7 separate regions of the Homo sapiens genome follow, and regions 1, 3, 4, 5, 6 and 7 are each linked to region 2. Evidence: promoter capture Hi-C in 16 types of primary human blood cells and fetal thymus (Javierre and others, 2016). All regions are on one chromosome and are shown on one strand. The core of a region is centred on a gene start or on the middle of the fragment in contact, and the rest is flanking DNA. Distances in the headings are between cores, read along the strand shown. Region 1 has its middle 23 kb from the start of LINC01648. Region 2 holds the start of PTPRU (protein tyrosine phosphatase receptor type U). Region 3 has its middle 73 kb from the start of LINC01648. Region 4 has its middle 120 kb from the start of LINC01648. Region 5 has its middle 180 kb from the start of LINC01648. Region 6 has its middle 92 kb from the start of LINC01648. Region 7 has its middle 160 kb from the start of LINC01648.

Region 1 (3,128 bases), core at 59-2,558, 820 kb after region 2:
ATTTCCTGGGGGAATGGATTGCTGTGATTGGTTTAGTCTATGCCGATACCTCTCTCTAAGAAGAGAGGTGGGATAGAGTCACTGACTGATAATTTGGTCAGAATATCAGGGCCTGGGGGGTGCAGGAAGCTTACCTTCCCAAAGCAAGGGTGACAGGAGTGATAGGTGCCAAAAACAGAGGGAGAAAGAGATGCCGGATAAACCAAAACAGCCCAAGTGCAAATTGCAGTACATATTATGATTTCGTTTTATAAATAAAGAAACTGAGTCTCAGAGAAGCTAAGAAAAGGACATAAATTAGCAAGTGGCACAATAGACCCTTGAACCCTTCTCTGCTGGACAAAAGTGCCCCATGTTTTAGCCCATGGACGGCGGTACTTCCAGGAATACCGGCCTCTGCAGGCATCTCAGCACCTCCTGAGTTCCAGCGGGTTTCAACGCATAATTCCAGCCCAAATAGGAAGATTCTCCAAGCTCAGACATTCAAGTCCTTCACAGGCCCCTGGCTTACAAACCTAATCTTCATGATGGATGTAATTTAAGGCCCCTTTCCTTCTGGATTACAGAGTGCAGGAAAATGATGCTCCTGGCAATTTCTTGTCAACTGAGCCACCCTGGGAGTGAGCGCATCAAAGGGAACAGAGACCATGTCAGTGCTGCCAGGGGCAACCTGGAGGTGCAAGGAACATTAAGATGGCTGAAGTGTGATCTGTTTGACATGTGAGCGTGTTCTCCAGTGAAGCACACAGCTCAGAGCACTCAGACTCAGCCACAACCTCGGCACGCCTTCCCTTCTCCCTGGGCTCCTTTTCAGCAATCAGACCCTCCTATTCCTCCTGCCAGACCCAACCTGTCCATTTCATTTAAGGAGTGATTCACAGCATACAGCTCAACAGGGCTAAAGGGACCTTGTGGAGCCTCTGTTCCAACCTCATTCATTTTACAGATGAGAAAACAGAGCCCAGAGAGACTCAGACACTTGTTCAAGGTCAGAGAGTAAGTCAAGGATGAGGCTGAACCAGGGAACATCAGGACCCCTACAGGGAGGGCGTCTCATGTCCAGGTCCTGGCACGGACACTTTTACATGCATATTTAATCCTCACAACGACCCTGTGCCGTGGGTGTTATTATCCCCCCTTAGCCTTGGGTAAAAGAAAGCTCTGAAAAATTAAATGCCATGCTCAAGGTCACAGAGCTGAGTTTCAAACTGCTTTGATTAGCACAAAAGTCCAAGTGCTGAAGCACTGTGCAGGTCATTTGTCCACTGGCCGTTTGCTCTCTGTGCCATTAACACTATTGTGTGATGCTGGATCCTGGCTGGCTGCATCTCCTAGACTCCCATGCCTGCTGGCTTCCAGTTAGCACCGACAATGGAAAGTGCTAGTGAAGACGAAAAGATGGGAGCTGGGGAGAAGCTGCTTCTGAAAGAGGTTCTGGCTGCACCAGGTAGCTACCAGCTCAACGGCCCTTTGGTGACTCTGGCAATAGCTGCAGTGGCCAGCTGCAGCTACCCAGGGTGTGGGTGGCTCTGGCAGCAGTGGGCCTAGTGATGGATTACATCAGCAGGACACGCAGTCTTGAGCTCTGCAGCACCACCTCCTCTGGTTTGTGCCTCCAGGACTAGGGCTCCTATCTTTTCTTTTCTTTACTGTTTTTTTTTTTTTTTTTTTTTTTTTTTGAGATGGAGTTTTGCTCTTGTTGCCAAGGCTGGAGTGCAGTGGCGTGATCTCGGCTCACTGCAATCTCTGCCTCCTGGGCTCAAATGATTCTCCTGCCTCAGCCTCCTGAGTAGCTGGGATTACAGGCGCCTGCCACCACGCCCAGCTAATTTTTGTATTTTTAATAGAGATAAGGTTTCGCCATGTTGGCCAGGCTGGTCTCGAACTCCTGACCTGAAGTGATCTGTCTGCCCCAGCCTCCCAAAGTGCTGGGATTACAGGTGTGCGCCACCACGCCGGGCCTTCCTATCTTTTTCTTTTTGCCCTTTCAGCCTGTTCACCACTTTCATAATCAGCTCCCTGCATTCACTCCCCTCTGTTTACAATTTCTAGCGTACTTCCTGTTTTTTCTAAATGAACCCTGAATGATATAGCACTTGGTATCAGCTGTGCTACCAGGAAACAAACCTTCAATAATGGGATTTGGGGGTGGGCTGTTTGACTTGATTAGGCTTAAACACAGTGAGAACCTCATGGCCAGGGACAGTGAGATTGTAGTATGCCTTGGTGTGCAGGGACATTAAATCACTTAAATCATCACTTACGGTTGCCTGGGACAAAGTGCCTATTGAACACTGAGAATCGTCAGCCCAAGTGGCTGCGGCACTTGGCCTCTGAGGTAGTAATCATGACTATCAGAAGGAATGAGGAGTACAATGGCTACTTATGACAGTACTGGAGAGTTTGTAGAAAGAAAATGACAAGCACTGTGTTTCAAATCTCTGCTCAGAGCACGGATAGATAACCAGTGATTAGATTGCCCTCAAGGAAGCTTTTGTGTTTTCTAGCTATAGGGCAGACACAAATGAAAATCACATCTAAAATGTCATCCTGTGGGTTGTAGAATTGCATCATACGTTGGACTCACAAGCTTACTGTCTGTTCCTTGAAAGTGAAGGCGTTGATTGGGAAGCAGAGGGCCTCCAAGAATGAGGTGTGTGCCGTGTGTGTGCTGCCCCAGTGCATTTTGTAAATGACTTGTAAAACTGAGCAAGTCTTAGAGCCAGGAAAGGCCCTGCAGCAATGCTGATCTCCAGGCCAGTGCCCTGACACCTGGGCCTATAACCCAGCCTGTCTAGTGGAACCCAAGTCTCTGTACAAGTAGGGATCTTGTATGGGGCCAGCAGCAAGCCCCAGTAGGAGACTCAAGCCCCAGCAAGAGACACCAGCAGCACAGTTGCCCCAGTTTTTTGGTGCAAAGCCCTATCCTCTTCTGTAGATAACTATTCTGCATTTGAGAAATAGCTCTTGGCTTTCTACTGAGCCCTGGTGTAACCAAGTGGCTTCCTTTTTTCTAAGAAAAAGGAAATGAGTTACTATTATTTTTCCATGATTTTCTCTTCTTTTCTCCTCTCCCCTTTCCCTAGTCCCTGTTTTCTACTTAGCCCTTCAGAAATGCAGGTGTGACC
Region 2 (3,533 bases), core at 384-2,883:
ACTCCCTCGTTTCCTTTAGCTTGCATATCTTAGATGGTAATGATATATTTATGTACATGTTTGCTGTTGGGCTCTCCTAATAGAATGTAAGATTCATGAAGGCTAGGACCATTTCCCTTTCATTCATTCCATCCAGTCAGTATTTATTGAGCATCAATTACGTGCCAGAGGCCGGGCGCGGTGGCTCACGCCTGTAATCCCTGCACATTGGGAGACTGAGGCAGGTGGATCACCTGAGGTCAGGAGTTCCAGACCAGCCTGGCCAACATGGTGAAACCCTGTCTCTACTAAAAATACGAAAATTAGCCGGGCGTGGTGGTGGGCACCTGTAATCCCAGTTACTTGGGAGGCTGAGCCAGGAGAATTGTTGGAGCCTGGGAGGCAGAGGTTGCAATGAGCCAAGACTGCGCCATTGCACTCCAGCCTGGGCAACAAGAGTGAAACTCCATCTTGAAATAAAATAAAATAAAATAAAATAATAAAAACATGCCATATACTGGGCACGGAAATACAAGATGAGTCTTTTCCCAAGGGAGCTCATTTCTAGAGGTGGAGACAGATAATGAACTCATCATATAGCCCGCACTCTATTTGAAATTGCAACAATTCCCCTTCCCTTCCCTGTCCCCCCACCACCCCCAAATTTCCTGGTGTATGAGACAGTGATAAAGGACGTACACCAGAGGGTTTGCTTTTTTGTTTTTGTTTTTTTGGTTGTTTACTGTTCTTGTCTTCCCACTGGAATGTAAGGTCCATGAGAGTAGGGAATTTTTGTCTGTTTTATATCTCTACCCTGGCCTATAGTAATTGTTGAATAAATGAATAGACCCCAATAAATATTTGTTGAATGAATAGGTGTCCAGATGGGAGGAAGGTCTCAGCCCCTATTCAATTCAAACCAAACAACTTTGATTCAAATCTCGGTGCTGTCAAATACTGTTGCATAACAGTATTTATGCAGTATAATTATTGCATACCTAATATATGATGATTAAATGAGTCCATGTGGGTTAAACACATAGAAGGTACCTGGTCTTACATAGTAATGAGCAACGAGTTTGCAGATCATAGTGCGAGGGCTCGTTCTGGGTAGAGGCCCAAATACATTTAACCTGTGTAGCCAGAAGGTAGAGTAGGACCAGTGAGGGCTAGTGAGGGAGGTAGACTTGCACGTCATGAAATGAAAAACTTTCTAAAAGCCGGCGTTTCCAAAGCCCCAACAACCGCTCTTGGCCAGGTGATGAGCGCCCTGTTCCTGGAGGTATGTAGAACACGCATTTGAAGGCGCCAAGGTACAAGGGATTCAGGCATCGGATGGGACAGAGGCCGGGTGTCCCTGGGTCACCGTCCCTGAGAGCGCTGTACGGGAGCTAGGCGTGGGCCATGAGCGTGCTCGCCTGGCAGTGTTGGTGCCCGGTCCGTGGAGACGTCCGTGGGCGTCCAGACCCAGCCGCGGGGCCTCATGGCGGGGAGGATGCGGGAGCGGGGGAGGGGCGCGCCAGGGCTAGCGGGCGGCCGGACCCGCTGCAGCACCCGCCGTGGCCAGCAGGGAGCGCCGCGAGACCGCCGAACCCGCGGCCGGGCCTGACGTCAGCGCCCCGCTTGCTCCGGCTCGCGCTCTGGACTCGGCGCCAGTCCCGCTCCGCGCCGCGCCGCTCCGCTCCGGCTCGGGCTCCGGCTCGCCTCGGGCTGGGCTCGGGCTCCGGGGGCGGCGTCCCCCGCGCCGGGCCCCGGGACGGGCGGCGACGCTCCAACCATGGCCCGTGCCCAGGCGCTCGTGCTGGCACTCACCTTCCAGCTCTGCGCGCCGGAGACCGAGACTCCGGCAGGTAAGCGCGCGGCGGCCGGACCGAGCCTGCCCCGCCGAGCCTCGGGGCCCGTGGCGTAGCTCGGAAGAAAGTGTGAGTGTTGAGTGACCGGGCGTTACGAGCGTGCTCCCTGTGTGTGTCTGAGCGTAGGATGGGCGATTGTGTGCCCGGGGTGTTGCGTGACTGCGAATGTTGTGTGTCCGTGAGTTCTGTGCGCAAGAAAAGGTGATGTGTGTCGGCGAGTATGTTGGGGGTGAATGTTGTGTGCATCGAGGCATTGGGTGTGCGCTGAGTGTCTTGTGGGTCTGCCAGTGTGTAGTGTTTGTGTGGCCAAGTGGGTTGTGTGTGCATCTGAGTTTGGTTGTGTTGCGGGAGTTGTATCTGCTAATGTGTTGCATTTGTTTGCATTTTGTATGCCTGGCCGGGAGTGCTGTTTGTTTTGTGTCTGCGAGTGGGTTGTGTGTTTGTGTTATGCCTGTGGCCAAGGGTGCTCTCTGGATCCCGCCTGAGTGTGGATCCGGGAACGCGTGTGTGGCGTGTGTGCTTTTGAGATCCGTGTACATGTGTGAAGGCGTGGGAACGGGTCCGGAACGTGTGTGTCCGTGCGCTGTGTACGTGTGGGGAGTGTCTAGGGTATGTGGTGTGTGCTGCCGGGGGCCGCGTGGGTCCGAGTGAATGCCAAGTGTGCCGGGAATGCGTGTGTGGGAGCGAGTCTGGAACGGATGTGAGTGTGTGCGAATGTGTCCGTGTGTGCTGGCTGCGCGTCCAGGAATGTTGCGAGTGTGGAGCGCGCCTGGGCCGCGGCTGCGAGTGTGCCCTGGTCCCGGGGCCGCCCGAGGGGGCGGTGGCAGGACGTGTGTGCGCGCGTGTGCGTGTGCGCGTGTGTGGCGCGCTGGGCCGGAACAAGTTGTCGCGGCGGCGCCCCCTGGGCTGCCCGGGTCGGGCAGGGCCCGAGGCTCAGGGGAGGACCGGGCCCCGCGGCCGCCGCCTCGGGCATGTCGGACTGTTTGTTGTTTCGCAAGTTCCGCGCGGCGCTGGCGGGCGGCTGATCCGAGGCGGCGCCGGGGCTGCGGGGCGCCCGGGCCAGCGGGCCCCAGCGAGGGGCCGGCGGGCGGGCAGGGGAGGGCCGGACCGGCGGGCGCTCCTGCGGTGGCCGGGCCGCGGCTGCGCCCCGGGCGGCCGGGCGGGGGCTGTCCCCGGGCTGGGCTGCGACGTCCGGGCGCGGGCAGGGCCTGGCTCGCCGCCGGGGGACGGCGCCCCCTCCCTTGGCGCGCAGGACGCGCGGGGGACGCCCGGGCCTCCCGGGACACTCCCTTGGTGGAGCCTGCAACTTTGTGCGGCCTCCCGGCCGGCCGGGACCGCCAGGTGTGTGCTTGAGTGTGAGCGTGAGTGTGAGCGTGTGGCTCCGCGCTTGTCTGCTGTGTGGTCGCGTTCTCCGGGTGTGTTTCGGAGTCTGGTGTCTTTGGTGTGCGTGCGCGTGTGTGTGTGCGCGCAGCTGAATGTATGTATACGGAGCCTGTGTTTGTGTGTCCGTGTGCTCGTCGGAGTGTGGACGGTGTGTCGGATGTGTGTGCGTGCGCGTGTTCCACATCCCACCCTGAGGCCTGGGATCCTAGACCGCGGCCCCTTCCCGCGGAGTTTCGGGGCCCTGCTCCGGGTGACCTCCCCCGCCCTCGCCACCGGCGGGGCTGCTCCGCGGGCTCCGGGTAGCCGGGAGACGCCCGG
Region 3 (3,139 bases), core at 270-2,769, 870 kb after region 2:
GATTATGAAAGGATGCATTTAGTCACAGGTAACGCACAATAACACAGGAGGTAAATCAGGGTTCTTATCAATACAATAACCTTGCAAGCATCCCGTGCAGTTCATTGCACCCTCTGCACTTGGAGCCTTACATGATATTGCCCAGCTCTTACTGATTAGTAAATCTTTACAAATTGATGGCCAGGTGAAATTAATTGGCCACAGTGAGGGGTATGTTTGACCCAGGCCACGAGTTCCACGACCCAGTTGAGACAAGGCGGGAATGGGGGAATATTCTGTAAAGGCGGCACCAGCCACCTGGACCCGCTGTGGGGTCATTGTCCCTCAAATGGCTCTCACGGGGTCTCCATCCCAGCCAGGGTCTAGGCCATCATTCTCACTCACCTGCACTGTAGCCTCAACTTCAACTCTTGCTGGCTCTAATCCACCCTCTGCCCTGGCCATGTGATGATCATTCTAGAAGGCCAGCCTCACTGAAAACCTGCCATGGCTCCCTATTTTCTAAAAATGCCTTAGCCTCGCATTCAAGACCCTCAGGATGGGGGCAGGTTTCTCTCTCCATCCCATCCCCCTCCAGGGACCACCCTTGGTTCTGGCCACACTGAGCAATGGTCCCAGCTTCCTGAACTAAGTTCTCTCAAGCCTATGGACTTTTGTACATCCTTCTCTTTTGCCCTCCCATTGTTATCCCTCTGGCCACTTCACACTCACTATTAAAACTCAAGTGGGAGCTAAGCTATAGGGAGGCAAAGGCATAAGAATGACACAATGGGCTTTGGGGACTCAGGGGGAAAGTTTGGAAAGGGGGTGAGGGATAAAAGACTACAAACTGGGTGCAGTATATACTGCTTGGGTGATGGGTACACCAAAATCTCACAAATCACCACTAAAGAACTTACTCATGTAACTAAACACCAACGTGTTCCCTAATAACCTATGGAAATAAAAAAAATTAAAAAATAGGTAAAATAAAATACTTACTTAACAACAACAACAACAACAAAACAATTTGCTTTACCTCCTCCAGGAAGTCTTCCCAGATAGACCCAGACTGTTTGTTCTGATAGGGCCTGAATTAGTTACCTATTCCTACAATAAAACTGCCTAACAAAACCCAGAGAACCTCACTGGCTAACGTCAGAACACATTTATTGCTCACTCCTCTGGGGTCAGCTGTAGGTTGGCTAGGCAGCCCTGCTGCTCTTGGTTGGATTCACTTACATGTCTGGGGGGTTCCATCATTGCTGGCTGATGTTGGCTGACCTTGGCTGATGTAGTTGAATTTGGATGGGGTGACGGGAGAAACTTGGCTCTGCTCCGTGTGCCTCTCATCCTTCAGAAGGCTGTCCAGCCATGTTCTCACAGCAGTGGTAAGATGCAAGAGCCAGCCCAAGTGCGTCACAGCAGCGTCACGTCTGCCGACATCCCATTGCCCGAAGCAAGTCATATGGGGGAACCATCTGTTTTCTGCCAAGGGACAGGACATGTTGCCCGCCCACAGCACTGCAAAGTTACACGGAAAAGGGTGGTTGCTCGAGAGGGGATGAGAAATTGGGGACCAGTGATGCACATTTTCACAGAGCAAAACGCATTTGTCTTTCAAAGCTCTCAGGACTCCACGATGTAGTAACCTTTAAAAATTTTTAACAGCTTTATTGTGTTACAACAATAAACCGTATATATTTAACATACTGATTTGATGAGTTTGACATATGTACCTACTCGTGAAATCACCATCACAGTCCAGGTAACAGACATACACATCACCCCCAGGTGAGTCCCCTGCCCCTCGGTCAGCCCCCCTCCCATCCTCCCATCACTCACCACCATGCCTGCCTCCTCTGCCCCAGACAAAAATTCATCTGCTTTCCATGACTATCAGTTAGTTTTCATTTTCTAGAATTGTATCTGCTGGAATCATACACTATGTTCTCTTACTTGTCTGGCTTCTTCCACTCCACATAATTACACTGAGATTCCTCTAGGTGATATGTATCAACATTTCCTTTCTTTTTATTACTGAAAAATGTTCATTGTATGGATGAATCACATTTTGTTCCTCCATGCACCTGTTGATGAGTATTTGGATCATTTCCAGTTTGTGGCTATAAATAAAGCTGCTATGAACATTTGTGCACAAATGTGTGCATGGACATATGTCTTCTCTCACAGGTAAACACTTTGGAGCAGAATGACCAGATCATATGGTGGCGTGTGTTCAACTTTCTAAGAAACTGCCAAGCTGTTTCCCAAGGTGGCTTTGCACTCCGCATTCCCGAAAAGAGCCCCAGCCACTCCTCATCCCTCCAGCCCCTGGTGCAGGCAGTTGCCCTTTTATCCTGGGCGGGTGAAGTGACATCCCGCTGTGGTTTTCTTTGGTCCGTCCCGATAACTAACGACGTTGAGCATCTTTTCATGTGCTTACTTCTCACCCTAGCTCTTCATTGGTGATGCGTCTGCTCAGAGGATAATCTGTCATAATTAGGGTCTTCGTTTTATTATGGTTGAGTTTTGAGGGTTATCTATGTGCTCTGGGCATATCTTTACCAGATATGTATTTGGCAAATATTTTCTCCGAGTCTGTGGCTTGCCCTGGGTGAGATTTTTTTTATTTTTAACACATTGATCAATCAATGATTGGCAAGAGCTTCACTGAGAAGGCCCGAGCTGACAGAATGAGTCAGGGTCCAAGCCATTCCCTCCACAAAAATAATCACAAAATAATAATAATAATAATAATAATAGCAAGCAGAGAGGCTTGTGAAGACTCATCAAATCCGTCCTCCTGTCGCCGGTGGCCTGGACTCTATAGAGAAGTCATCCTAAAAATCGGGATCGCCGTGGGGAGGGGAGTGGCGGGGGGAGGTGGATTAGGTCCAGAAAAGCGCACACTCCGGGACCTCGCACAGCATCATTTTGCTGATGCAAGATCGCCCTCTTATGGCCACGGTTCCTCCAGCCACTGAGCTCTGCCCCTCTCTGGGGCTCTGTGAGGCACTGGAAGACAGATAAATGGAAACATTTGTTTTGGCTCCCAAGTTTCTGATGAATACAAGTGTTTTCATTCGCTGGGCAAATATCTCAGTGGAGATGGATGAAAATAAAACTGCGACTGGGGGAGTTGATTCCCGCTTCCCTG
Region 4 (3,301 bases), core at 290-2,789, 680 kb after region 2:
ATGACAGACACAGCTTTGAGGTTCTGGAGGACCTAACACTGCGGGCTCCTGCTTCCTGCCTAGTGAGCAGAGTGGTAAAGAGCGTGCTGGCTGGAGTCCATCAGGCCAGGACCTAGGCACTCACCAGAGGAGGGCGTGGCTTATCTATGCCTCAGTATCCTCATCTGCCCAGTAGGGCTGCTGTGACAGCATCCACCACATGTGGTCATTTGAGGACGCTTTTCCTGATTAGGTTCAGGAAAAGCCTTTTTACTTCACCTCCACTGGAGATCTCCAAAGCTCTGCCTTGCTGGGGGAATTGGGAGCCCATCATCATTATTCCTTGTTACCTAGGAAGCCAAACTGCCTTTGATGTTTTATTGGCCTGACATTTTCCTTCAAAGGGTCTCTATTCACTGCTGTGAGAGTTGCTGGCTTCTACCAATTTGATGAGATGGGCATCTATCACCTCCCAAGGGGAAGTCTGACTCTAAAGGCTCTAAAATAAAAGGGGAAAAGGTTTGATTTCACTGGGGCTGGTCTTGGAGGGACTGGTCTTGGGGGCTGCTCCTGAAGTCTGTATGTAAATTCCCAGCAGAAGCAGTGGGAGGTCTGGGCTCTGCAGCCACATCTGGTGGGTGACGAAAGCTGGATGGGGAGGCTGTTCCTAGGAAGACTAATCCCGGTGCTTGGCTGTGTGTTTCTATGTGACACCACACAAGGAAGCCTAGGTTACTATGGCCCTGATCTCCCCCACCAGCTCTGGTCTCTGTGATCTGCCCCCAGCTTCCTCCCAGGATTTCATGAAACCTCAAATCTATTTGTGCAACCTCAATTCAAACAAGTCTATTAACTTTCACCCAGTGAAAGTCATTAGTTGTTGCTGGCTTTGCTGGCTCACAGCATTTTCAAGCCGGAAAAGATCTTGGATGTTTTAGGACCCTACCTCCTTCAAAGACTAAATGGCTCCTTCACTGCTTCAAGACTTCTAAAGGGCCCCCTGGCATTTAGATGGAGTCCGATCCCCTTAGCATGGCATTTGATTACTTGCTGATCCAAGGGCACACCCAGCCTTGCCTCTGTCCTGGCTCCGCCTCTGCCCTGCATGGCTCCTCACCTCTGGCTATGATAGAAATTGTCTCAGTATATTAGGCACCTCCTCAGGTCTGGGCGTTTGTACCTGTGTCTTCTCTGTCTGGAATACTCTTCCTCTCTCCCACCTGGTGAAATTTTCGGCACCCACCAGAGACTAGCTCAGGTGTCACCTCCTGCTTGAAGCTTTCCCTGATCCTACCAGGAGGAAGTAGCTGCTCTGCCTTCCATGCCGTAGACACCTCTGCCAGAATAGTGACTCCTGGTGCTTCGTTGGCTGCTTGTCTTCGTCAGCGTAGACAGCCAGAACAAAATCCCATAGCAGAACAAAATCCCACAGCCTGTGTGGTTTAAACCACAGAAACTTATTTTCTCACAGTTCTGGAAGCTGGAAGTCCAAGATCAAGGTGCCAGCAGGATCAGTGTGTGGTGAGGGCTATCTGCTTGGGTTGCAGACACCTGCCTATTTGCTATGTCCTCACAAGGCCTTTCCCAGGTGTCTACACGTGTAGACAGAGGGGGAGATCTCACTCTTTTCTCCTCCTATAAGGCCACCAATCCAATAGGGATTAGGGCCCTGCCCTTGTGACCTCATTTCACCCTAATTACCTCCTAAAAGCCCTAACTCCAAATACAGTCACACTGGGGGTTAGGACTTCAATACATGAATTTTGGGAGGACACAATTTAGCCCACAGAAATAGCGCGCCCTTTAAATTGGGGGCTGCTTTTTAGTTTTGTGTTCCTAGGAGAAGCTTCTATCCTAGGACAAGTAGAAGAGCCCAGCACAGGGAAGCATTGAGTAACCAAGTCATCAGACAACTGAGCTGAGTACAGAACAACAGACTGAAGACTTTTGAAGACAGAAACTTCTATGAAAAGGAAGCTTTTCAGTTTCTAGAAACAGAAAACAAAACACAAACTCCCCAAAACAATAGAGGGAGTTTACTGACCAACGGAACTAAAAAGTTCCAGATGTGGGCTTCAGGAGTGGTTTGATCAGGGTGTCAGGTTCACTTCTTGATAGTTTTCTCTACTATACCCACCTTCATGTATTGATTTTGGTCTCAGGCTGGCTTTATTCATGGTGATAAAGTGGCTGCATTAAGTTTCAGTTCAAGATCCTTATCCCAACCATTCAGAAAGACAGAGACATCTACGTCACAGAATTCTCAGCAAAAATCCTAGAGTTTGTACTGATTGAACCAGTTACTGTGGCAAGAGGAATGTGATTCCCTGAGTATCTTAGACAAATCATGTCCCACCTAGTTTTTTGGATGGTCACTCTCAATGAATTCTCAAGGCTGTACATAATGGAGTACTGAAAAACATGAATTTTAGTATTCTTCTCTCCCTCCCTTCCTTCCTTTCCTTCCCTTCCTTCCCTTCTTTCCTCCCTCTCCTCCCCTCCACTTCCCCTTCCCCTTCCTTCCTTCCTTCTCCTTTTCCCTTCCCCTTCCTTCTTCCTCCCCTTCCGCTTCCCCTTCCCCCTCCCCTTCCTCTCCCCTTCCCTCCCCTTCCCCTTCCTTTCTTCCTTCTCCCTTTCCCTTCTCCTTCCTTCTTTCTCCCCTTCCCCTTCCCCTTCCCCCTCCCCTCCCCTCCCCTTCCCTTCCTTCTTTCCTCTCTTCCTTTCACAAATTATATACAGTTATTATTATTATTATAATTTTTGAGACAGAGTCTTGCTCTGTCACCCAGGCTGGAGTGCAGTGGTGCGATCTCAGCTCACTGCAAGCTGTGCCTCCCAGGTTCACGCCGTTCTCCTGCCTCAGCCTCCCGAGTAGCCAGGACTACAGGCGCCTGCCACCACGCCTGGCTAATTTTTTGTATTTTTAGTAGCAGACGAGGTTTCACCGTGTTAACCAGGATGGTCTTGATCTCCTGACCTCGTGATCCGCCTCAGACTCCCAAAGTGCTGGGATTACAGGCGTGAGCCACCTCGCCCAGCCTGTATACAGTTATTATAAGTCAGACTCTGTACTAGGTGTTGAGTGCATATATGAGATTAGGACAAGATTGCAATCTCAAGCTGTTGAGAATCCTACTTAAAAGGATTTTGAAAATTATCCAGAAGGCAATGAGGAACCATAATGGGATTGTAAGAAGGTGAATGACTATGTTAATTATCTATTGCCGCGTAACACACAACCTCAGAATTTAACATCTTAAAACAACAAACATTATCTCACAGTCTCTGTGGTGCAGGGATCTGGGCAGAGCTTACCTGGGTG
Region 5 (3,077 bases), core at 464-2,963, 620 kb after region 2:
CCCAGGGATCCCAATTCCCCCTACCCAAACAAAATGTGTCAGGGTAGAGATAGATCACCAGAGACGAGAGAACTGAGAGGAAGCCCCTGCCCACCCATTCCTCGCACAAGGGGTCTGAGGAGGGGGCTCTGTTTCTCTAGATGCTCAGTTGCCAAGTGTTTGCCAAGGGCCAGCCTGTGCCCAGCTCTGAGCCAGGGCTGCAGATTTATGAAGAGCCAGAGCTCAGGAGACAAGGTTGGGGCACCCACAGCATCTGCTGCAATCTCTAGGAACATGGTTATGGACGGAGCATAACCATGGGCAGTGGGGGAGCCTCCACCCTTCAGCACCTCCTGCCTGGTGGCCAAGCCCCTCCTAGGTCTATAGCACACCCCACCATCTCCGCCTCTGAGCCCCAGGGCTGTTATTTCCTTAATGTGCCTGCTTTAATTATTATCTTCAAGGAGAGACTCAATCCGGAGATAAACACAAAAGACCTGCTGCTGACAGTGGAAGGCTCCTGCCTCCCTGGATGCAAACGGAGGGCCCGCTGCAGCCCAAGCATAACTTGGGCCTTAGAACCAGCAAACTCAGCTAAGTGCTGATACAGTGCAGTCCCGTGGAGACAAAAGTGTCCTCACACTGCTGCCAGGCCCTGCGTGTAGCTCTGGCACCCCCATGGCTGGGGAGTGGGCTGGGCTGGGCTTGGCTTTGCACTGTCCTGCCCATTGGCCCTCTGCTCTCTGCTCAGCTTTCCAGGCTCGGCTGCTGCTGTTGGTGGAATTGGGCATTTTATGTGCTTTGATAAGGCATCCCGGGCAGAGCTCTGGGAGGCTTGGCCTGGCTGTTCCTGCCTCTCTGGGGGAGCTCTGAGGAGGAGCTGGCTTTGAAGCAGCATGAGAAGCCTGCTAGTAAGATTTAACAGGCACGACCAGAATCCCAATACCACATCCCAGCAGGCACTAAGCAGGCCACAGATGTGTCACGGGCCCAGGTCAGCCACAATCTCAAGGGCTGTCATAAACTAAAGGCGCAGGGCTTGCTCAGCTGTGGAGGCCTGGGGTTGGGTTCCAAGAAAATACAGAGGCTTTGGAAATAACAGCCACTCTCACAGTCTGGACATGAGGGAACAGAGCAGGCTGGGCCCTGACAGGGTTTCCTGAACCCAAAGGAGAGCAGGCCATGGCCAGGGTCCAAGCTCTGTCACCTAAGAGCTCAGCTCTGCAACCACTGAGACCTGGCTTGCAATCCCAGCTCTTCCACCTCCTACCTGAAGGATCTTGGGAAAATGACCTGGCCTCTCTGAGACCCAGTTTCCGCAGCTGTATGATGGCTTCTGGGTACCTCCTATTTCAAGTTTATTTTCTCCATGTGAGGGCAGAGGTGAGGAAGCTCATGCCCTCATGGCATGGACTCTGGCTTCCCACGGGCATGGAGGACCCCCAAGCCCTGGACTGGGTGTCAGGAGGCCTTGGCTGGGGCACCTGCCCTGCCTGTGTCTGCTGTGTGGCACTAGACCTGAGGCACGGAACCCCTTGCCTGCTGCCCCCACAGACTTTTGAAGGGAAAAGGCCTGGCTCAGGGACGGAGGAGAATCGTGGCATCCTGGAGCTGGGGGAGACTTGAGGGCAATCCAGGCCCACCCACATCTCACAGGAGAGGAATCATCCAACACTCTCCCATCCTTAGGTGGTCCCCAGTCCCAGGGGTAACTAAGGGGCTGGGCAGGTTGGTCCAACCTGGTTCCCCCTGGCCGTTGAGACCCTCTGCTCCCTGCAACTGCTGCGACTCATCCTCTTCGCCTGCAGAGGCAGCTGGTGCTCTGTGAGGAAGACATTTTCTGGTACCAGAAAACTGTGGGAAAAAGCAGGAATCCTCCAGGGATGTTCCCCACATTGAATTATGCATGAAACAACCCAGCTTCCAGGTTTGCTGAGCTCACCCACCTTACTGCCCTGACCCTCTCCAGTCTCCACCACAATGAGATGACTTTTCCAATCAGCTTCGGCCCCTCTTGGGGTCACCTGAGTCAGATTGGCCGCTGCAGACATGGAAAGGGCCCTGCCAGGCTCCCCTGGCTGAACCGAGTGTTTCATGATCCTGGAGCACCAGAGGTAGTGGATGAGCCTTTGTCAACAGCTCACAGGGAATCTGGACAAGCAGGGTCCACCGGGAGAGATCCGAGCCCTGCTCGCTATCTTGGCCAGCAAGGCGAGGGCACAGCAGCAAGAAGGCAGGTGAACAGAACATTTATGCTCATCTTATGCTGGGTGCTGGCAACTGAGCAGCAAAAAGGCCATGTTGTAAACCAAAAAAAGCAACTGAGGCGCATCTCAATTTACATGTGTATTTTGCCAAGGTTGAGGGTGTGCTGGGGAAAATGAGACTCAAGCCACAGTAGGATCTGTGGTCTGAACTTTTTCCAAAGGGGATTTTAAGGGCTTCGATATTTAAGGGGAAAAAGCAAGCAGGAGGAGAAAGGAGGAAAGAACGAAAAAGAGGGACAGTGTGGTCACGTTCTTGCAGGGCCCTGATGAGCACTCACCAAATCCACACATTGCATGTGAAAAGGACAGGGTAGAGGAACAGTCCATTACGTATTTGTCTCTTGCTCAGAAAATCTGCACTTTCTATAAAATAAACATAGAATGGAGAAAGAAATCAAATATGTGTTCGTCTTGGGGTGGGTGGTGGCATGATTCCTAGTCTCCTCTTGGCTCACACCCATGAAAATAAGCTGTTATCATCATCAGGGAGAGGAAGGCCACCCGGGGAGACAAGTGGACTTCTATCTTGTAGCTATCTGTTTAGGAACACAGGAAACAGCCGTTTTTGCGTGACTCAGCTTCCAAGTTTAGCTTTTCCCTTTGGCATAGTGAGTTTGGGGTTCCGAGATTCTATTTTCCTTTCACAGTGTCCTTGTCTGGCTTCCAAAGAATTGAACTTAGTTCTCTGGTATTTTAAGGGGAAACATGAGTTCTAAAAGTATTATTTCTTATTTATAGGTGAGGAAACTGGGATTCACAGAGGTTGGGTAACCTGACTTAAGCCTGACATCTAGTAAGTGGCAGAGTGGGATGCAGAGCAAAGTGGGCTGT
Region 6 (3,511 bases), core at 935-3,434, 890 kb after region 2:
AGGTGAACTTTGAGGATGTGTCACTCATGGAACCCACATGGGTAAGAACAGAGTCTTCCAGTTCCATCCAGTCTCCTTTTTCTCCCTTTAAGTGCCCAGAAGGATGAGAGAGCAGCAGAGGTCTCCCCAGCCCTCCCCTGGCAGGAGATGTGGCCCCCACCTCACACCATGCTCAGCCCATGCTCCTTCTGATTCTTTAGGGACAATCACACAGGCCATTCCTGTAATGCACTGGGTCAGCCTGGCCTCCTGTGAGCTGGGCCCCAGCTCATCTGTATTCATCCTGCATGCAGCTTCTGCCTGCAAGAAGTGGCCATCAGGGTGTCCGTCCCTGAGCCTACCGAAAGGCATGGAGGTGGGAGTGGGATGACCTATGATCCCTGGAGGTTCAGGATCAAGCCCTAGAGAGCCTCTGTGTCACCCAGCTGCATCACTATGAATACTAATTGATGACAGTGGACACATATCAAATGCCTACTATGTCTCAGGTACTGTGTTAGTCTTATTCCAGGCATTTTCTCACCTAATCTTCAAATTCTTATCTATGTCTCATGACAAGAAAACTGAGACTCATGGGGGTGAAGCGACCTGCCCAAGGTGGCACAGCAAGGAAATGACTGAGCCAGAATTTGAACCAAGAGCCTACACCCTTAACCACCCTACATCACTTCCCTTCAGTGAGGGCACCCACCACGAACCCAAGTTCTGCTCCTGTGAATTTCAGGGCAGGAACCAGGTGGCTCAGATTCTGCAGTGGGGGTTCAGTGTTGGGTCAAGTTCCCCAGACTCCAGGTGATATGGTTTGGCTGTGTCCCCACCCACATCTCACCTGGAATTGTAATAATCCCCACGAGTCAAGGGCAGGGCCAGATGGAGATAATTGATTCATGGGAACGGTTTCCCCCATACTCTTCTCATGGTAGTAAGTCTCATGAGATCTGATGGTTTTGTAAATGGGAGTTCCTCTGCACAAGCTCTCTTGCCCACTGCCATGTAAGAAGTCCTTTTGCTCTTCCTTCATCTTCCACCATGATTGTGAAGCCTCCCCAGCCATGTGGAACTGTGATTCAATTAAATCTCTTTCTTTTATAAATTACCCAGTCTTGGGTATGTATTTATTAGCTGCGTGAGTACAGACTAATACACCAGGACTAACCACCACCTCAGGCCTCTCTGTTCACCGAGGCCCTTTGCCTGGTAAGCTTGCTTAAGGCTGGTGATCTTCTACCTGGTGATGTAGAAAGATGCTGGAGTGAAGAAGAGGATGTTTCCAAGAAGTCAGTAGAGCTGGTGGCTGAGGACAGCATTGGGTGCTGCGGGGGCACTGTGAGAACTACCACTTATTCACCTATGTGTGTGTGCCTTCCCCACAAGAGAGGAAGACCTGCAAAACCAATCAACTCTGGTTCAAGTGAAGTGCCCCTGGCAGAGCCGGAAAGGTGTTACAGGGTTTGTTTGTGTGGATGGAAGAGGCTGACCTGTCCCGCAGCCTGAAAACAGGAGGTGGGAGGGGGTGGGCAATGGAGCCCTCTCTCTGCATGGAGACACTTCAACGAAGATAAGGGAAAGCTTATCAGGCAGCATTCACGGTGTCAACAGCAGACAAGAAATGTTTCTAACACTTCAGCCTTGCCAACACTCCCTATTTATCTCAAGAAACACAAGTGTTTTTCTTTCTTTCTTTTTTTTGTTTCCGTTCTCTCCTGCTATAAAATGCTCAGAGTCTCACAGTGCAAGATGAAGGGTTGACACGCGGTGAAAACTCATTTTTAGATTCCATCAAGTTCCATCAGTCGCACTCCCCTTGCAGCAGAACCCAGCAGACCAGTGGGCAGAGCCAGCAGGCAGGGGGTGGAGGAGGCGGGGAGGGGTTGGGGTGGGGGACAAGCTGAAGGAGGGGGCTAGAGGGTGCGCAGTTCTGGTGAGAGGGCGCCCACTGGATGGGCTTGTTTGGGTCTTGAAGCTATGGTAAGGGTTGGGGAAGGGACATGACAAACATTTAGGGCAGAACTGCCTTTAAACCAGGTCACCAGAGGCCCCTCTGCTTTGGAGGGTCCCAACTAGGCTCTCCCCCACTGCGCCCCATTCCCTGGGGTGAGGATTCTGCAGAGCCAAACGGAGAGCCCAGCAGGACGGTGGCCCTCTTTAGACCTCATTCTGGGACCCCAGAATTTTCCCCCCCAAGTGGCCCTGCACCACCTCCAAGAGCCTGTTTCTCCCTTCTTGCCCAGATCGGGGCTGCAGAGCTGACCTAAGGGTGAACACTGTGCCCAGAGCCCGCACCCCTGGCCTGAGTGCAACCTAGGGGCGGCTATGGGCAGCTTTTGCAATGACGTGAGTCAGTAAGTCTACAGTCAAATTAACCCTCCCCACTCCCACACCCCCCAAGCAGTATCGTGACATCTCTGCTTTAGTCCCTGAAAGCAGGGGCCATGCTCCTTGGTCTGGCCCCAAGTGGGACTCCATTGAGGGATTGCCAGAGGTCACCCAGAGAGACCCAGTGGCTCTCTGAAGGGCACACAGCAATGTGATGGGCAGAACCTCTGTGTCCAAGCCTCGGTCAGCTCAGTGTGTCCAGCCTGAGCTGGGTCCACCATCAGAGAGCCTCCCGTGATTTCAGGCCTTTAGGGAGACTCATGGATGAGAACTATATGCAATTGTTCTTGAACAATATTAGCACCAGCAGTGCCCCGCCCAGCTCCATTGGCACAGAGAGCAGCTGCAGCAGGAGCTGGCTGAGGAGGGAGGCTGGCACCCCAGCAGCTCCCTGGAGTGTGGGGCTAAGGCTCCAATGCCAAGTAAGCTTCTGCAAGGCAGGCACTGCTATGGCTCTCAGAGGGCCCCCTATGCCCACAGTCTTCTCCACTTCTGGGAGCTTCAGCAGTCTCCACCTGCCCACCAGGCCTCCCCCTCCCGGGAGCTTCAGCAGTCTCCACCTGCCCACCAGGCCTCCCCCTCCCTCCTGGGATGCTGTATTAGTCTGCTCTCACATTGCTAAAAAGAACTACCTGAGACTGGGAAATTTATAAAGAAAAGAGGTTTAATTGACTCACAGTTCCACAGGATGTACAGGAGGCATGGCTGGGGAGGCCTCAGGAAATTTATGATCATGGCAGAACGCAAAGGGGAAGCAAACACATCTTACCATTGCAGGGCAGGAAAGAGAAAGAGCAAAGGGGAAATTGCCACACACTTTTAAACCACCAGATCTCATGAGAACTCACTCACTATCATGAGAACAGCAAGGGAGAAGTTCACCCCATTGATCCAGTCACCTCCCACCAGGCCCCTTCTCCAACACTGGGAATTACAATTCAACATGAGATTTGCACGGGGACACAAATCCAAACCATATCAGATGCTCTCTGCACTTGGCAGCCAGGGGCATGGGAAGATGAGACTTCACTGCCAGGTCAGGCACTTGGGCTCATCACAAAACTGAGAGCTTCAGCTTCTGGAAAGTTCTTCTTTCATTGAAATTAAGTAGCTGTTCACCATTAGTGGTGGTGGT
Region 7 (3,475 bases), core at 503-3,002, 640 kb after region 2:
TCCCCGCTCCCAGGCCCAGTGCCGGGTGCTTCACCCCTCCCCCCACTCACTCCTCATGAGAGCCCATTTTGCAGTCCAGAGAGTGAGGCACAGAGCAGTGGTCACAGACAGGAAGTAGCCTCGCTGGAGTTCCAGCTCAGGCAGTGGGGACTCCACACACCTTTGCCAAATGCCATTCCGTGGTCTCCAGTCCCCACAAGGGTCATCTGACCTTTTGCGGACTCACTGCAGCTATGGCTGGTTAACCGGCTGCTGGTGTTGCAGGCCATGTTCTCACCTGCCTGTGTGCATCTTGTATGAGGGACCACACCCCGTCCTCTCCCCACTGTTTCTAGCAGAGGGGCTGGTGCATAGTAGGAGTTTAAAAAATGCAGGAGAGTGGAAGAATACATATATGAGAGGAAGTTTCTGAGCATCAGTGCACAAAGCCCATTATTTATGTCCACAGTGGGGAAGGTGTGGCCGGCCACCTGTTCCATTTGTTCATTCATTTGCAAGCTTCTCTTGAGTGCCTGTTGTAAGTCCAGCTCTGCGGGCAAGTGTCTGGAGAGACCAAGCATAGGAAAACAAGAGTTCTGCCTTCATGAAGGCAGAAAGAAAGTCAGGACACTGAAGAAGTAATGATGGCAAAATGTAAAGTTGTCCACAGAGGGGCTGTCCAAGGAGCTCTGAAACATAACAGAAGAATTAAGTTGCATTATGAAAGGTCTCTCAAAAAAGTGATGTTTAAGCTGAGATTGAGAGAATAAGCCTAAAAGGTTCTGGCAGATGTAAATTTAGCACAAATCACAGTATTATGCACCAATAAGCCCTTAGGCTAAATTAATGAAGAGCTGATATCTAGAATGTAGGGGGTGAGAGGCTGTCTCTCTCTATTCTGGGCTGCTCAGAGGTTGCCTGAAATGTTGAATTCACAAGAGAGAGGCTCTTACTGTCCTCCCGCTTTTATGAACAAGGGCACTGAGGCTCAGAGAGGTGAAGTAACTGATAGAGGGTCACTCAGCCAGTGAGTGGCAAAGCCCAAGCTGTGGAAGGCATGGTCTTTTACTTTAAAGGCACAATCCAGAGGTTGCACATGTGTGCATCCATGTACACAAAGACACACACATGTACACACACACACACACACACACACACACGCAACTTCTGCTCCAGCATCATTGGCAGAACTGGGCCATGTGAAAGGAAAAAAAATCTCGGGACCCCAAAATCACTAAGCCAAAGGGAAAAAATCAAGCTGGGAACTGTGCAGGTGCAAACCTGTGTCCCATTTTATTCTGTTGCATTTCACCCTGACAATGTAAATTGATAGCTCATCTTCACAGGTGCAGGATAAAGAACAGAACTCTAAGTCATCCCTCTGCTCACCTGAGACAAACGCATATCTGATTGCTCCCTCTGATGGAAAAATGCAGATTCACTGAGCAGACAAAGGCATAAGTGACTATTCCTCTACCCACCTCCCATGTAAATTGTGTATTCAGTTAAAGGTTGATCAGACTCAAAAGAATGCAACCATTTGTGTCTTATCTACCAACAACTTTTATTTATTTTTTATTTTAGTTTTTTGAGATGGGGTCTTACTCTGTTGCCCAGGCTGGAGTACAGTGGTATTGTCTTAGCTCATTGCAGCCTCCACTTCCTGGGTTCAAGTGATTCTTCTGCCTCAACCTCCCAGGTAGCTAAGATTACAGGTGCCCACAACCGCACCTGGCTAATTTTTGTATTTTTAATAGAGACAGATTTTCATCATGTTGGCCAGGCTGGTCTCAAACTCCTGACCTTAAGTGATCCACCCACCTTGGCCTCCCAAAGTGCTGGAATTACAGGCGTGAGCCACTGTGCCCGGCTTACCAACACCTTTTAAAAAATTTTCCTCTTTCTGCAATATTCACCCTTTCCCCTTTAAATATTGAAGCCCTCAAAATCATCGTTGGACAAAGGCACAGACTTGCCTTTTGGGCAGGCATCCTTAACCTTGGCAAAACAAAAGTCTAAATTGATTGGGACCTGTCTCAGATGCTTTTTGGTTTATGGCCACATGACCACATCTTGTTGCAGGGGATGCTGGGAAATTGTAGTATTAGTAATTGTTCTGGGCAGTCATATAAACACTTGAACCAAAGGTTCTATTAGCAAAAGAAATGTAGAAGAATGTGTTGGGAGGTGACTGGTGGACTCTGCGCAGTGCCAAATATGCATTGGAGGAATGCTTCTGTGGACTGGGGTGGGCTGGCAGTGGGAGGGAGGAGATGGGTTCATTCTGACATCTCCATCTTCCCGCCCCCTCAGAGACTCTTTTGTGCTTTCTTGATCTTGACACTCATGTGTCGTTCTTTGCTTGCCTTAATTTGGATTTCCCAAACTGCCCTCTAAGCACATTGCAGCTCTGGGATTCCCCGAGCTGGTGAGACTACCAGAAAGCAAGTTAACGAAGGTGGCACATTCCCCCAATGCAGCCTTATCCGTTTCCAGTGACCACTGTTGAAACTCATGGTGCATTCATGAATTCGCCCATCTTTACTGGGTACCCGCTCTGTGCTGACACTGTGCCAAGCGCTGGGGATACAACAGTGAGTAAAAACAGATGTGATTCTTTCCTCCCAAAGACTAGACTACAATGGAAGAGAGGCATTCTACCACAACAAATTCATACAAACATATGTGAAACTGCATCTTAGTGCAGAGGTGGTAGGGAGGTTTGAGAAGGCTTCACCAAAAAGATGATATTTAAGTTGATTACTGAAAGATAAACAGGAGTTTTCCAGGTGAAAAGGGAGAGGGGAGAGCGATCCAGGTGTAGGGAACTGTGTGTACAAAGGCCCTGGGGTGGGAGGTCAGCATGATCAGGAGGCACCTGTGGGTGGATAGGATGACAGGTGAGCAGTGGAGTAAGGTGAGCCTGGGGCAGAGGCTGTGACCAGGATGGGAAGGGCCTTGTAGGCCAGGCTGAAAGTTCCACATCTCCAGTAAGGGCCCAGGATTATATTAAGAGATCTGAGTAGGGAAGCTTGGTTTCCACAGTCAGACAGGTCTCCTTGGATTCTCCTCCAAATGTAGACAGAGCCAAGACCCCCATTGAAAAGATGCCTGTGTCCCATGTGGCTTTGGCTTCTGGGCCATCTTTTCTCTGAATGCTTGACTTAGGGAGGCTGTGGCAGATTCAGAGCATCCTGTGGGGTATGGAGAAGAAACCAGAGCAGGGCAGGAGTTGCATTAGAGATTTCACATCTACCCCTCTGCATGGAGACCTGGAACACCTATGGGCTTCACTGTCAAAGGCTTGCTATGGGCACCTACTGAATACTTTCAGGAGATGGAACACAGTCCCCATTAGCCCTTGCTGACCTCACTCTTGTCTAAGAACCAAATGTAAAACCTTCTCTGGATTAAACTTAGCCCTCTGAACCTTGACTTCAAAAATAAGAAAGATCAATTCTTTGAGGACATAGAGTCAGAAGTGTTTTCTCCATTG

Evidence for each region. Contacts are between HindIII fragments. The CHiCAGO score rates a contact against its expected background, and 5 or more counts as called.
Region 1: a fragment that was not itself captured here is called in contact with the fragment with the promoter of PTPRU in region 2 in 1 of 17 cell types (M1 macrophages); the score reaches 5.9 in M1 macrophages.
Region 3: a fragment that was not itself captured here is called in contact with the fragment with the promoter of PTPRU in region 2 in 6 of 17 cell types (endothelial precursors, megakaryocytes, erythroblasts and 3 more); the score reaches 10.4 in endothelial precursors.
Region 4: a fragment that was not itself captured here is called in contact with the fragment with the promoter of PTPRU in region 2 in 1 of 17 cell types (M2 macrophages); the score reaches 6.2 in M2 macrophages.
Region 5: a fragment that was not itself captured here is called in contact with the fragment with the promoter of PTPRU in region 2 in 7 of 17 cell types (total CD4 T cells, M0 macrophages, M2 macrophages and 4 more); the score reaches 7.7 in total CD4 T cells.
Region 6: a fragment that was not itself captured here is called in contact with the fragment with the promoter of PTPRU in region 2 in 2 of 17 cell types (erythroblasts and M2 macrophages); the score reaches 7.1 in erythroblasts.
Region 7: a fragment that was not itself captured here is called in contact with the fragment with the promoter of PTPRU in region 2 in 1 of 17 cell types (endothelial precursors); the score reaches 5.6 in endothelial precursors.

The regions. Positions count from the first base shown.
Region 1 is chr1:30,059,453-30,062,580 of GRCh38, forward strand. No RefSeq gene overlaps it. Among named protein-coding and RNA genes, the nearest start is that of LINC01648, 23 kb to the left of the region's middle. The HindIII fragment of the contact is 2,362 bases long and covers 128-2,489 here.
Region 2 is chr1:29,234,889-29,238,421 of GRCh38, forward strand. It overlaps PTPRU (protein tyrosine phosphatase receptor type U), which reads left to right and starts at 1,634. Exons shown (of 30, transcript NM_133178.4): 1 at 1,634-1,829. The coding sequence starts at 1,757. RefSeq lists a silencer at 1,437-1,756. The HindIII fragment of the contact is 8,758 bases long and covers 1-3,533 here.
Region 3 is chr1:30,108,713-30,111,851 of GRCh38, forward strand. No RefSeq gene overlaps it. Among named protein-coding and RNA genes, the nearest start is that of LINC01648, 73 kb to the left of the region's middle. The HindIII fragment of the contact is 3,334 bases long and covers 1-3,139 here.
Region 4 is chr1:29,914,775-29,918,075 of GRCh38, forward strand. No RefSeq gene overlaps it. Among named protein-coding and RNA genes, the nearest start is that of LINC01648, 120 kb to the right of the region's middle. The HindIII fragment of the contact is 568 bases long and covers 1,256-1,823 here.
Region 5 is chr1:29,856,102-29,859,178 of GRCh38, forward strand. No RefSeq gene overlaps it. Among named protein-coding and RNA genes, the nearest start is that of LINC01648, 180 kb to the right of the region's middle. RefSeq lists enhancers at 1-274, 275-946, 2,067-2,566. The HindIII fragment of the contact is 4,704 bases long and covers 1-3,077 here.
Region 6 is chr1:30,127,560-30,131,070 of GRCh38, forward strand. No RefSeq gene overlaps it. Among named protein-coding and RNA genes, the nearest start is that of LINC01648, 92 kb to the left of the region's middle. The HindIII fragment of the contact is 1,234 bases long and covers 1,568-2,801 here.
Region 7 is chr1:29,879,358-29,882,832 of GRCh38, forward strand. No RefSeq gene overlaps it. Among named protein-coding and RNA genes, the nearest start is that of LINC01648, 160 kb to the right of the region's middle. The HindIII fragment of the contact is 2,512 bases long and covers 497-3,008 here.